Linked DNA regions of Homo sapiens: region 2 is linked to region 1. The links are contacts of gene promoters, found by promoter capture Hi-C in blood cells and fetal thymus (Javierre and others, 2016). All regions are on one chromosome and are shown on one strand. Each heading gives the region's core, a stretch centred on a gene start or on the middle of the fragment in contact. The rest is flanking DNA. Distances are from core to core; before and after follow the strand shown. Region 1 holds the start of IGFLR1 (IGF like family receptor 1). Region 2 holds the start of YIF1B (Yip1 interacting factor homolog B, membrane trafficking protein).

Region 1 (5,480 bases), core at 1,553-4,052:
CCCCGGCCCTCGGTTCACCTTTGTCTTTGCACCTTTTCCAGGGTTAACTGCTCTTTTTACTTTAAGATCGGGGTCTGCCGGCACGGGGACCGGTGCTCCCGGCTTCACAACAAGCCGACATTCAGCCAGGTGAGACCCGGCACGGAGCCTCGGGGGTTAACGGCTCCCTGGCCCTTCCCCTTCTGGGGCCGTCGTCACCATGTCCCGCCTATTCCGGGTTCCTGAGTCCCTCCCCACCGCCCGGCTTTTTTTCTCATTGGACCTTTCTGCAGGCTCCTCCCACCGGTCTTCGTGCCGTTTTCCCGGGAACTTGGTCGCGCCCCCATGCGTACAGGCTACACACGGCGGCTGTTCATCTTTGCCAGTCCCTTCCATCCCGCTGTTCATCCTTGCCAGTCCCCTCCATCCCTTTTCTGGTTTCTTAGGGGCAAAGGATCGCCGATGCACTCATGATGCTTAGGCTGGGGTGTAAGGTTCCACCCCCAACCTTCATGCCTCACTCTCTGTTCATGCAGCCCTGCCCTCTGAGCTCAGGCCCCGCCCCTTTTAAATTCTGTGCAGACCATAGTGCTGCTCAACCTGTACCGGAATCCACAGAACACAGCCCAAACTGCAGACGGATCACACTGTGAGTAAGGGACCAGGCCTGGGGGCAAGGTGAACAGCCCCCAGTAGGCTACACTCTGATTCCACCCTGCCCGCCCCCACCCCAGGTCATGTGAGTGACGTGGAGGTGCAGGAGCACTATGATAGCTTCTTCGAGGTGAGGGTTGGTAGGGGCAGATGGGGTTTCTTGTGGGAGCTCAGCTGAGTTCCTCCCCGTCTTCCACAGGAGGTGTTCACAGAACTGCAGGAGAAGTATGGGGAGATTGAAGAGATGAATGTGTGCGACAACCTTGGGGACCACCTCGTGGGCAACGTCTATGTCAAGGTGCTTGCTGCCCCCCACTTAGGGCCCAGAAGTGGAGGCGTTTCAATGCCTGATGGTGGCCACTGTAGGCTCTCAGCTTGAATTTCATCACTAAATCCAGTCCAGCCCCAGAGCGGGTAGTGAGTCCCCTGAAGATCTCTGAGTTCTCCTGCTGACCCTGACTGACATTTCCTGCAGTTCCGGAGGGAGGAGGATGGAGAGCGGGCCGTGGCTGAACTCAGTAACCGCTGGTTCAACGGGCAGGCTGTGCACGGTGAGCTGTCTCCTGTCACTGACTTCCGGGAGTCATGCTGTCGCCAGTATGAGATGGGGTATGGTAGTTCAAGGGTGGGATGGGCACTTGGAATCCCAGACTTTGAATGCGTGGTAGGGGCTGTCAGTGACAATGGCTTCCTCCATCTCTCTACCCTCTATGCAGGGAATGTACCCGAGGTGGCTTCTGCAACTTCATGCATCTGCGGCCCATTTCCCAGAACCTCCAGAGGCAGCTCTATGGGCGGGGACCCAGGCGCAGGTACCTCAGGACCAGCCTGCTATGTCTCCTCATGTCCTAAGGCCCCTATATCCTCAGATGAGCCTAACCCTAAGCCCCAGTAACCACGTTCCCAAGAATCTTTTTTTTTTTTTTTTTTTTTTGAGATGGAGCCTCACTCTGTTGCCCAGGCTGGAGTGCATTGGCACCATCTTGGTTCATGGCAACTTCCGCCTCCCGGGTTCAAGCAATTCTCTGCCTCAGCCTCCCAAATAGCTGGGATTACAGGCACCTGCCACCATGCCCGGCTAATTTTTGTGTTTTTAGTAGAGATGGGGTTTCACCATCTTGGCCAGGCTGGTCTGAACTCCTAACCTCGTGATCCACCTGCCTCACCCTCCCAAAGTGCTGGGATTACAGGCGTGAGCCACCACTCCCGGCTGACTGTTTTTTTTTTTTTTTTTTTTTTTTTTTTTTGAGACGGAGTTTTGCTCTTCTTCCGCAGGCTGGAGTGCAAAGGCGCAGTCTTGGCTCAGTGCAACCTCTGCCTCCCAGGTTCAAGCAATTCTCCTTTCTCAGCCTCCCAAGTAGCTGGGATTATAGGCACCTGCCACCATGCCTGGCTAATTTTTGTATTTTTAGTAGAGATGGGGTTTCACCACGTTGGCCAGCCTGGTCTCGAACTCCGGACCTCAGGTAATCCACCCATCTCGGCCTCCCAAAGTGTGGGGATTACAGGCGTGAACCACTGCGCCCGGTCATTCCCAAGACTCTTATACCCTAAGAGTAGTTCTGAGCTCCATCTGGAGACCAGTACCTAAGTCCCAATCCCCAAACCAGCCTGAACCCCTAATCCACGACCAGCCTGGATTGCCACCCCTGATACTGGCCACTGAGTTCCCCTGATACTGGCCACTGAGGTCGTGTCTTAGAACTCTAGTTATTTCAGCACCCTCCTGCCTCATCCCAGAGCAGAGAGGCAGGCCTGCAGGATCTCTGCACCACTCCTCAGGGTTCTAACAGAACTCTCAACGCTCCTATTCCCAGGTCACCCCCGAGGTTCCATACTGGCCACCATCCCCGAGAGAGGAACCATCGGTGTTCCCCTGATCACTGGCATGGCCGCTTCTGAGGCCCTGGCCCCCTTACCCTTCACCCCCAACAGGGACAGATGTTCCTGGCAGGACCTCTCCTCAAAGCCCCCTTCACTCTCCTGCCCCATCCTTCCCAGGCTCCCGGGCTCCATAATGTAATCTGTTCAGCATGGAGACCTTCTTCTACCGCCCCTGTCTTAATAAAGCTGCGTGTTTCACTTCGGCATCAACTTGCTTTTGCTGTGGTTTGGCATTTCCCTCCACCCACACATGTGACGAAAAGGGGAAACAAGACTGGGTCCTGGCCACAACTTCAGCTGAGGAACTTGGCACGGCCAGCTTGGGACCCAGGACCCTAACGGTACTGGTAGGGTGGGGACACCTTTGTGCTGAAAACCTTAGCACCTCCATCTGAGGCTTATTCAAGGGGGAGAGACCTGGTTGTGGCAGGTGGGAGGAGCCCTAGCCCCAAGGAGATTAGGATTCAAAGGTGAGGTGAGGTGCTGGGAGGTGGTCTCCAGCCAGTATGGGGCTGACTCCTCCGTGCCTGCCGAATTGTGATGGGAGTTAGTAATGCCTTACACTTAAACACTGAGTTTACTGTATGTGAGGTGCTGTTTTCAGCACTTTAGTTTGTTTTTGTTTTTTTTAAGGAGTTTCATTCCTGTTGCCCAGGCTGGAGTGCAATGGCACGATCTCAGCTCACTGCAGCCTCCACTTCCCAGGTTCAAGCAATTCTGCCTCAGCCTCCCAAGTAGCTGGGATTTACAGGCATGCGCTACCACGCCCGGCTAATTTTGTATTTTTAATAGAGACAGGGTTTCACCATGTAGGCCAGGCTGGTTTTGAACTACTGACCTCAGGTGATCCACCCACCTGGGCCTCCCAAAGTGTTGGGATTACAGGCATGAGCCACTGCGCCCGGCGGCCAGTTTTTTTTGTTTTTAGAGATGAGGTCTTGCTGTGTTGCCCAGGCTGGTCTGTAATTCATGGCTCAAGCAATCCTCCTACCTTGGCCTCCCTAGTAGCAGGGACTACAGACGTGAGCCACTGCACTTGGCAAAGTGCTTTGCTGTTTTTTTTTTTTTTTTTTTTTTTTGTAAAGATGGGGTTTCATTTTGTTGTCCAGGCTGATCTCTCGAACTCCTGGGCTCAAGTGATCCTCCTGTCTTGGCCTCCCAAAGTGTTGGGATTACAGGCATGAGCCACCACACCCAGCCCCTGCTTTACTTCTAATGACGGTTCTAATTCTCCACAATAACCCTATGAGACAGGTGCTATCATTGTCTTATTTTAGGGATGGAAAAGGGAGGGTGGGTGGGTGAGGACACGGCAGAGGTGGGATATGCATTCTTGCAATCTAGATCCGCAGCCCTGTTAGTCCCCTAGTGGCCTTGTGGGCTTCTCTGATAACCGGCTCAGTTGGGGGATGAGGGCTCGGGGGTAGATTCCCGGCTTCCGAAGAGGCGTGAGAATTCTGTTCCCCCACATCACCGCGTCCTTTCTTCTGCCCGATTTCCCCGGAAAGTGTAGCAGAGGCGCTGTGTTTGGAAGTCCCGCTATCACGGCCCCCCAGATGGGGCCTGGACGATGCCTCCTGACGGCCTTGTTGCTTCTGGCCCTGGCGCCACCGCCGGAAGCCTCCCAGTACTGCGGCCGCCTTGAATACTGGAACCCAGACAACAAGTGCTGCAGCAGCTGCCTGCAACGCTTCGGGCCGCCCCCCTGCCCGGGTGAGAATCCGAGACCGAGCCTTGCTTGGGCGGAGCTTGCAGGTGATAGGGAGCGGGGAAGGGGCGAGGTCTGTGGGCTACGGGCCAGAGAGGCTTGCTTAGGGGTCTAAGCGGTGGGCCTTATGCAGATCAGACAGGGATGGCAGGCAGAGCCTGTGCAGATAGTGCGGGCTACCGTAGGGCAACAGCGAATGGATATGGCTGGAGAGGCGGGATAGGGGCCGCGTGGAAAGGGTGGGCTTTATGTAGAGAAGCCGGGAGTGGGCGGAGCTTCGTGCGGAGCAGGCTGGAGGGGGGTGAAAAGGCGAGCCCGGAGAAAAGTGACAAGACCGGGGCGCACGCTAATAGGCTGGAAGCGTCCTGGAGGGGCGGGGCACGCTGGGATAGGGCGAAGGGAGAGGGCGTTGCCCGCGCAGGGGCGGGCTAGGCGGCCGCACTGGAGCGCAGCTTTCCCGCTAGACTATGAGTTCCGGGAAAACTGCGGACTCAATGACCACGGCGATTTCGTAACGCCCCCGTTCCGAAAGTGTTCTTCTGGGCAGTGCAACCCCGACGGCGCGGAGCTATGTAGCCCCTGCGGCGGCGGAGCCGTGACCCCTACTCCCGCCGCGGGCGGGGGCAGAACCCCGTGGCGCTGCAGAGAGGTGCAGATGGGACTCCCGGCAGGGCAAGGGCGTGCTGGAGGTGGGGGGCCTAGATGTAGGGAGCCGGCGTAGCCCCACGTAAGGGGTGGGGCCGTGGTTTCAGGAGGTGGCTGGCCTGCAGGGGTCGGGAGGTCCTAGGTTAAGGTAGTTGGGCCTTGCGGGGCCCAACTACCTTATCAGATACCGTATCAGATGGGATGTGGCCCCATTAAAGGATATAAAGTTGGGAGGTTTGGGAGCGGGCAGGAGTGGAGTGTGGCCTCCAGCTTTACTCCAACCCCTTATCCCCAGAGGCCGGTCCCTGCCAAGGGGCACTGCCCCCTCACACCTGGAAACCCAGGCGCCCCTAGCTCCCAGGAGCGCAGCTCACCAGCAAGTTCCATTGCCTGGAGGACCCCTGAGCCTGTCCCTCAGCAGGCCTGGCCGAATTTCCTTCCGCTCGTGGTGCTGGTCCTGCTCCTGACCTTGGCGGTGATAGCGATCCTCCTGTTTATTCTGCTCTGGCATCTCTGCTGGCCCAAGGAGAAAGCCGACCCCTATCCCTATCCTGGCTTGGTCTGCGGAGTCCCCAACACCCACACCCCTTCCTCCTCGCATCTGTCCTCC
Region 2 (7,970 bases), core at 2,571-5,070, 2.6 Mb before region 1:
AGGCACGCCCAACCGCCAGGTGTTCGTTCGGAGAGGGTGGAGCCCAGTGCTCCCAGACCCAGCAGACCAACGGGATGGAAAGGGTGGAGGTAGTCCTCTCTTCCCCTCATTCCTTCCTTCTCGTCCTCCTGGAAGGCTGGTTCTCTATGTTAGAAGAATCTGAACTTTCCTCTCTGCTCGCAGGCCGAGGAGTCGCCCCCCATCGCGCACAGCAGCTAAGGTTGTGCACTGCATCAGGGCGCGCGGCTGACGGAGCAAGGGGCAAACTGAAATCCAATTCTCGCTCCATTCGCCAAGTTGTGAGCCTCGGAGTGGGAACAGCGGACACCACAGAGTCAGGTGTCCCCTGTGCCCGTGTGGACAGAGTGGGGATCCTCAGCTACTCACCAAAGCTTTGTTCAATGCCCACTTTCTGCTGACCCCTCGCTGGATGATCCTGGAGACTCAGTAATGATGAGACCATCCTGCGCCATGCATTCATGGGGCTCCCAGTCTAACTGGGAGACTGACACAAGAGTGACCCACGCCTGTTGTCCCAGCTACTCGGGAGGCTGAGGTCGGAGGATTGCTTGAGCCCAGGAGTTCGAGGCTGCAGTGAGCTATGCCTGGGAGAGAGTGAGACCCTATCTCTAAAAAAAAGAAAAAAGACAGCCCAGAGTGGTCAGGGCTGTGATGAGGGAAGCAAGGGTACAATGATCAAGCCTGGAATCAGGGAGCCCTAGAGGGCCCTGGGAGTCCAGAGGAAGCAACCACCCCTGCCTAGGGAGGTCAAGAGAGCTTCCTGAGGAAGGGGCTAGCTGAGCTGAAGCATGAAGGATGAATGGAAACAAGCCAGGCAGAATCACAAATACACGCCTCTATTTAAGAGGAAATTTTTCTTTCTGCGCCCCCCCGTAAGTCTCTCCACTTCTGCCTCCAGCCAGAACTCAGCGCCTTCCTGACAGCCTTTTGGAGGGCAGCCCAGAGTCCTAACCCCATCCGACTGGCAGAGGAGTGGGGCTTGGGGCTCAGCTCAGACATGTCCCAGCTGGTTCTATTAAAGAGCTGGCAGATCACCGGGCAGAGCCCAACTTGGGGTTGACAATCCAGAAGCAGAGGCACCTGATAATAGAATCAGTAACACAATAGGTGCCAGTGATCGAAGGCTTACATTCTGCCAGGCCCTGTGGACACCTGAACTTGCACTGAATTCTCAACCCCGTCCCAATATAATTCCCACTAAACAGATGAGAAAATTTAGGCTTAAAAATGAAGTAGTCATTTGAGACCAGCTCGGGCAACATGGCAAAACCCCATCTCGACAAAAAATACAAAAATTAGCCAAGTGTGGTGGCATGCGTCTGTAGTCCCAGCTACTCGGGAGGCTGAGGCAGGAGGATCGTTTGAGCTCAGGAATTAGAGACTGCAATGAGTTATGGTCGCACCACTGCACTCCAGTATGGGTGATAGAGTAGACCCTGCCTCAAAAAAATAAAAAGTAGTAGTCACACAACTGGTAAGGGGTGAACATGAGGCCAGCAGGAAGCCAATGAACTAATGAACTTGCTTTTTTTTTTTTTTTTTTTTTTTTTTTGAGACAAGAGTCTCGCTCTGTCTCCCAGGCTGGAGTGCAATGGCACAATCTCGGCTCGCTGCAACCTCTGCCTCCTGGGTTCAAGCAATTCTCCTGCCTCAGCCTCCTAAGTAGCTGGAATTATAGATGCCCGCCACAACACCCAGCTAATTTTTGTATTTTAAGTAGAGACAGGGTTTCGCCATGTTGGCAAGGATGGTCTCAAACTGACCTCAGGTGATCTGCCCGCCTTGGCCTCCCAAAGTGCTGGGATTACAGGCGTGATCCGCTGCACTTGGCAGTACTTGCTTTATTAATTAAATATATATACATAAGGCTGGGTGCGGTGTTTCATGCCTGTAATCTCAGTGCTTTGGGAGGCCAAGGCAGGTGGATCACCTGAGGTCAGGAGTTCGAGACCAGCCTGGCCAACATGGCGAAACCCTGTCTCTACTAAAAATACAAAAAATTAGCCAGGTGCGATGGCACACGCCTGTAATCTCAGCTATCGGGAGGCTGAAGCAGGAGAATCACTTGAACCCAGGAGGCAAAGGTTGCAGTGAGCCGAGATCGCATCACTGCACTCCAGCCTGGGCGACAGAGCAAGACTCCATCTCAAAAAACAAACAAAAAAGCAATAAGAAAAAAAAAAACATTTATGGAAGAGATGTATCTGGAGCAACCAGAGCAAGAGAGGGCTGAGGATGAGGAGAAAATGGTGTTGGAGCCCAGGGGACAGAGGCTAAATCAGAGGTGAAGAAGAATGCGGGCATTTCGCTCACAAAAAGGAACCACAGTGGAGCCAGCACTCATCACTGAGAAACCAGGAGCAGCCCTTAAGGTCTCCAAAAAGACAACGTCTCAGAGGAGGAAGAGGAAGCCACAGCGATAGGGTCACTTGCTGACATCCTTCCGGATGCGCTATCGCTGCGCAGAAGTAACTTCCACCACTATGTTTTCCTGAGATAAGTCGGGGAGTCTGAGAGGGAGAGAAGGGGGGAGACTGAGAGTCAGAGAGAGGAGAGACTAAGGACGCTAGGTGGGCAGGGCTCTTCACTTGCAGGTGCGCCTGTGTGCTGTGAGTTGCTGGGGGTTGTAGAATGCTTTTGGTGGACAGAGGGAACCAGGTTGCAATGTGAGAACATTTTTATGAATTTCTGGGAAACTGCCTTAAGATCTATTCCAAGAGAGACACCTGGTTCTTCTCACCTAACTTGTTGGGTTTCCTTTTCTCACTCTAAATATTCACTTTAAGGCCGGGCACTGTGGCTCATGTCTGTAATCCTAATGCTTTAGGAGGCTGAAGCAGGAGGATGGCTTGAGCCCAGGAATTCGAGACCAGCCTGGGCAACATAGCAAGATCCTGTTTTGACAAAAAATTTAAAAATTAGCTGGGCATGGTGGTGCATGCCTGTGGTGCCAGTTACTGGGGAGGCTGAGGCAGGAGGATCACTTGAGCTCAGGGGGTCCGAGGCAGCCTGGAAAACAGAGGAAGACCCTGTCTCAAAATAAATAAATATTTACTTTAATACCTAAGGGATGTCAAAAATTGTATAAGCCCCTACAACTCCAATTAGCCCCTCAGGAACACAAATGTTTCTCTTTTCCTTGCTCCACAGCCTTTTCTGGCTCTCCAGTGCTCTCAATGACCCAAACTGAACGGCTGTCTGCAGAGAACTGCATTTCCCATCGACCTTTTCGCTCGATATTTACATTTTAAAAAATGTTTTGTAGCGATGGAGATCTCGCTGTTGCCCAGGCTGGTCTCGAACTCCTGGGCTCAAGCGATCCTCAGCCTTCCAAAGTGCTGAGATTACAGGCGTTAAGCCACTGAGCCTGGCTAAATTAAAAAAAAAAAAAATTGTAGGGATGGGGCGGGGCGAGGGTCACTATGTTGCTCAGGCTAGTCTCGAATCCCTGGGCTGAAGCAATCCTCCCGCCTCGGCCTCCCAAAGTGCTGGAGTTAGGGGCGTGAGCCCCGGCAAGGGGCAGACACTCATTTTCTGTCGTGGCAGACACCGCCTCCTCCTGGGATTGGTCCCGGCCTCGCCCTCCTGCCACTCAGGCCTTGACTCGCTTTACTGCATGAGCCCAGTAGCCCAGTCTCCGCCTCTTACGTAAGGCACCGCCCAGTCGTCCAGGCCTCCGTGAAGGGGGGGGCTGGAGGGGTCGGGGGGGTGGGGGCGAGGCCTTCCCTCAATCCTGACGTCCATTGGCTGTCTCTTCGCCGGCGGGGCGTGGGTACGGGAGCCGGGCGGGCACGCTCCGAACCGCGGCTTAGGTGGCGGCGGCGAAGGATGCACCCGGCAGGCTTGGCGGCGGCGGCTGCGGGGACGCCCCGGCTGCGTAAGTGGCGTACGTGGCCGGCGGAGGAGATCGGGCGGGCGGGGGCGTGGCGGGGCGGCCGCGTCGGTTGGCGAGGTCACTGCAGGTCAGAGGTCACGAGATCAAGGATCTGGAACCCTGAGGTGTGCACAGCGCTGGGATGCCAGGTTCGGGTAGGAGGCCCCTTGGGGGGCGATTCTTTAGGAAATTCCTTTAGAAGAAAACAACTTGGGACTGGATAGCGTGCGATATGCAGAGAAATGCAACTTTCATTCATTTGCAGTTAGCGATCCGCCCTTCCCTGCTCCCCACCCTTCCGTGGCTCCCCAGTACCCGCCTGCTGTCGCCCACACCCTTAGGACAGCTTCGTGGCCCCCCGGGAGCGCAGAGGGCCATGCCTACCGCTCATTTAAGAAGCGAACCTGTATTGTGCTGTTGGCCCCCTTTTCCTGTCTCTTCATCTCCGTGAGTGTGCTGTGTGTTTCATTTATTCATTCAACCTAACTTGTCTCAACTCCCATGTGTCAGGCCCTGTGTTGGGATGGAGATGTTGTGGGAGCCCTGAGGAGGCACATGACCCAGCCTAGGGGTGTCAGTGAAGCTTCCTGGAAGAGGATACTTCTTTTTCTTTTTTTTTTTTTTTTGAGACCTAGTTTTGTTCTTGTTGCCAAGGCTGGAGTGCAATGGCGCGATCTCAGGTCACCGCAACCTCCGCCTCCCGGGTTCAAGCGATTCTCCTGCCTCAGCCTCCCAAGTAGCTGGGATTACAGGCGCAGGCCACCACGCCCGGGGTGGTATAGACGGGGTTTCTCCATGTTGGTCAAGCTGGTCTCAAACTCCCGACCTCAGGTGATCCGCCCGCCTAGGCCTCCCAAAGTGCTGGGATTACAGGCGTGAGCCACCGCACCCGGCATGGAAGAGGATAATTCTGATCATGAAAAGTTACCCAGGAGAAGGAGATTTGTAGTGAGAGGGCAGGCTGGGCGTGCTGGCCTACACCTATAATCTCAGCACTTTGGGAGGTCGAGGTGGGCGAATCACTTGGGGCCAGGAGTTGGAGACCAGCTTGGGTAACAGCAAAATCCTATCTCTAATAAAAGTACACAAAATTAGCCGGGTGTGGTGGCGAGCACCTGTAATCCCGGCTACTTGGGAGTCTGAGGCTTGAGAATCACTTGAACCCAGGAGGCAGAGGTTGCACTGAGGCGAGATTGCACCAGCCTGGGCGACAGAGCAAGACTTCGCCTCAAAAAAAAAAAAAAAAAAAAAAAAAGAGGGTGATCCACCTGCCTTGGCCTCCCAAAGTGCTGGGATCACAGGCATGAGTCACGGTGCCCAGCCAACCAGCCTGGCCAACATGATGAAACCCCATCTCTACTAAAAATGCAAAAAAATTAGGTTGGGCGCAGTGGTTCACACCTATAATCCCAGGATTTTGGGAGGCCGAGGTGGGAGGATCACGAGGTCAGGAGTTCGAGACCAGCCTGGCCAACATGGTGAGACCCCATCTCTACTAAAAATAGAAAATTTAGCTGGGCGTGGTGGTGTGCGCCTGTAGTCCCAGCTACTCAGGAGGCTGAAGCAGAAGAATTGCTTGAACCTGGGAGGTGGAGGGTGCAGTGGGCCGAGATTTCACCACTGCACTCCAGCCTGGGTGACAGAGTGAGACTCCATCTCAAAAAAAAAAAAAAAAAAAATTAGCCGGGCGTGGTGGCGCGCACCTGTAATTCCAGCTACTCGGGCGGCTGAGGCAGGAGAATCGCTTGAACCCAGGATGCGGAGGTTGCAGTGAGCCAAGATTGCGCCATTGCACTCCAGCCTAGGCAACGAGCGAAACAACGCCTCAAGAAAAGAAAAAAAAGAGAGAGAGAAGGAAAGGCATTGGAGGCCTGTGCCAAGTAAACAAGTAGACATATGAATATATATTCAGAAATTATTGTGAGTGCTCAGAAGAGAAAAAGAAAGCACCACATGTTATGAGAAGGAACCAGACGAGGTTAGTGCATTACAGGGAGGAGTGAGGAAGGTCTCTGCAAAGGCAGGGGCCTCTGTGTGATATTGGGAGGTGCTGATGGAGGGAGGTTGTTCCAGGATGAAAGCTCTGCATATTCAAAAGCCAGTGGGGGCAAGGAGCTTGGCAGAGTCGGGGCCTGAAAGGCCATGTGGCTGGCTGGTGCATGGGATCCCCAGGAGAGGTTGCAAACCATGGTGGTTGGCAGGAGTGGGTCATGCAGGGCCTAGCAGGCCTTTGGATTTTTTTCAGAGCACAGTGAATAGTGATCTTAGGCAGAGGATGACGTGGTCTTATTTGTATTTAAAAAGATCACTCTGGGCCGGGTTAGGTGGCTCACGCCTGTAATCCCAGCACTTTGGGAGGCCGAGGCGGGCGGATCATGAGGTCAGGAGATCAAGCCCATCCTGGCTAACACGGTGAAACCCCGTCTCTACTAAAAATACAAAAAAATTAGCCGGGCGTGGTGGTGGGCGTCTGTAGTCCCAGCTACTTGGGAGGCTGAAGCAAGAGAATGGCGTGAACCCGGGAGGCGGAGCTTGCAGTGAGCTGAGATCACGCCACTGCACTCCAGCCTGGGTGACAGTGAGACTCCGTCTCAAAAAAAAAAAAAAAAGATCACTCTGGGTCAGGCACTGGTGGCTCACGCCTGTAATCCCAGCACTTTGGGAGGCCAAGGCAGGCAGATCACTTGAGCTCAGGAGTTCGAGACCAGCCTGCCCAAAATGGTGAAACCCCATCTCTACTAAAAATACAAAAATTACCTGGGCTTGGTGGCGTGCGCCTATAATCCTAGCTACACAGGAGGCTGAGGCAGGAGAACTGCTTGAACCCGGGAGGTGGAGGTTGTGGTGAGCCGAGATCGCACCATTGCACTCCAGCCTGGGTGACAAGAGCGAGAATCTGTCTAAAAAAAAAAGAAGAAGAAGTAGGGGAAAGAAAAGGGAAGTGGGGCTTGCAGAGAGGCTGGGGCCAGTGCTGCTTGCCTTGGAATTGAGGAGACCTGGGTCCGTCTTCAGGCTTCGAATAATTGAGAGGAAGGGTTCGAGGCTAGTAGCTGATCAGGAGTGACATGGATGGACTGCTTTCTGTGGGGCCAAGGAGTTTATGAGTGTCACAACAGCTCTGCAAGGTGGGACAGTTAACTCCGTTGTGTAGATGAGAACATCCAGGTGCAGAGAAAGTCATGACGTGGATAATTCGATTCCTCTCCCCATTCCCACTGTCATCTGATCACTCATTCCCTGTGCCTGCAATAGTGGGTGGCACATAGTAGGATCTCAGCAGATATTTGCAGGGTAGCATTGGTTATTGATTAGGAACAGAGGCCCTGGAGGCAGAGTGCTGGGTTCAAATCCCGCCCTCCCTATTTTCTCCATCTCAGTAGAGAGCACTCCCATTTGCCTCATTACTCAAACCAGGATCTATAGAGACAGTATTGGCTCTTCCCACTTCTTTTTTTTTTAAAGAGGGCCTTGCTGTGTCGCCCAGGCTGGAGTGCAGTGGCATGATCTTGGCACTGCAGCCTTGACATCCCAGGTTCAAGCAGTCCTCTCACCTCAGCCTCTTGAATAGCTGGGACTACAGGTGCACGCCACCATGCCCTGCTATTTTATATTTTGTAGAGATGGGGTTTCACTATGTTGGCCAGGCTGGTCTTGAACTGAGTTCAGGTGATCTGCCTGTCTCAGCCTCGCAAAGTGCTGGGATTATAGACGTGAGACACCATGCCCAGCCTCTTACCACGTTTTTTGTTTTGTTTTGTTTTGTTTTTTTGAGATGGAGTCTCGCTCTGTAGCCCAGGCTGGAGTGCAGTGGCGCGATCTTGGCTCACTGCAACCTCCACCTCCCCGGTCCCGGTTCAAGCAATTCTCCTGCCTCAGCCTCCGGAGTAGCTGGGATTACAGGCACGCACCACCATGCCCAGCTCATTTTTGTATTTTTAGTAGAGATGGGGTTTCACCATGTTGGCCAGGCTGGTCTTGAATTTCTGACCTGGTGATCCACCTGCCTTGGCCTCCCAAAATGCTGGGATTACAGGCGTAAGCCACTGCGCCTGGCCTCTTCCCACTTCTTAACACA

The links. Contacts are between HindIII fragments. The CHiCAGO score rates a contact against its expected background, and 5 or more counts as called.
Region 2: the fragment with the promoter of YIF1B here is called in contact with the fragment with the promoter of IGFLR1 in region 1 in 1 of 17 cell types (fetal thymus); the score reaches 7.2 in fetal thymus.

What each region holds. Positions count from the first base shown.
Region 1 is chr19:35,739,774-35,745,253 of GRCh38, reverse strand. It overlaps IGFLR1 (IGF like family receptor 1), which reads left to right and starts at 2,802. Exons shown (of 5, transcript NM_024660.4): 1 at 2,802-2,858; 2 at 4,031-4,230; 3 at 4,690-4,874; 4 at 5,166-5,480. The coding sequence starts at 4,074. U2AF1L4 (U2 small nuclear RNA auxiliary factor 1 like 4) reads left to right here. Exons shown (of 6, transcript NM_001040425.3): 2 at 42-129; 3 at 833-931; 4 at 1,109-1,242; 5 at 1,350-1,445; 6 at 2,451-2,727. The coding sequence ends at 2,535. RefSeq lists silencers at 1,124-1,284, 4,587-4,716 and enhancers at 2,620-3,049, 4,397-4,506, 4,854-5,480. The HindIII fragment of the contact is 10,043 bases long and covers 1-5,480 here.
Region 2 is chr19:38,311,797-38,319,766 of GRCh38, reverse strand. It overlaps YIF1B (Yip1 interacting factor homolog B, membrane trafficking protein), which reads left to right and starts at 3,820. Exons shown (of 8, transcript NM_001039672.3): 1 at 3,820-3,907. The coding sequence starts at 3,850. RefSeq lists an enhancer at 1-94 and a silencer at 3,496-3,985. The HindIII fragment of the contact is 4,086 bases long and covers 395-4,480 here.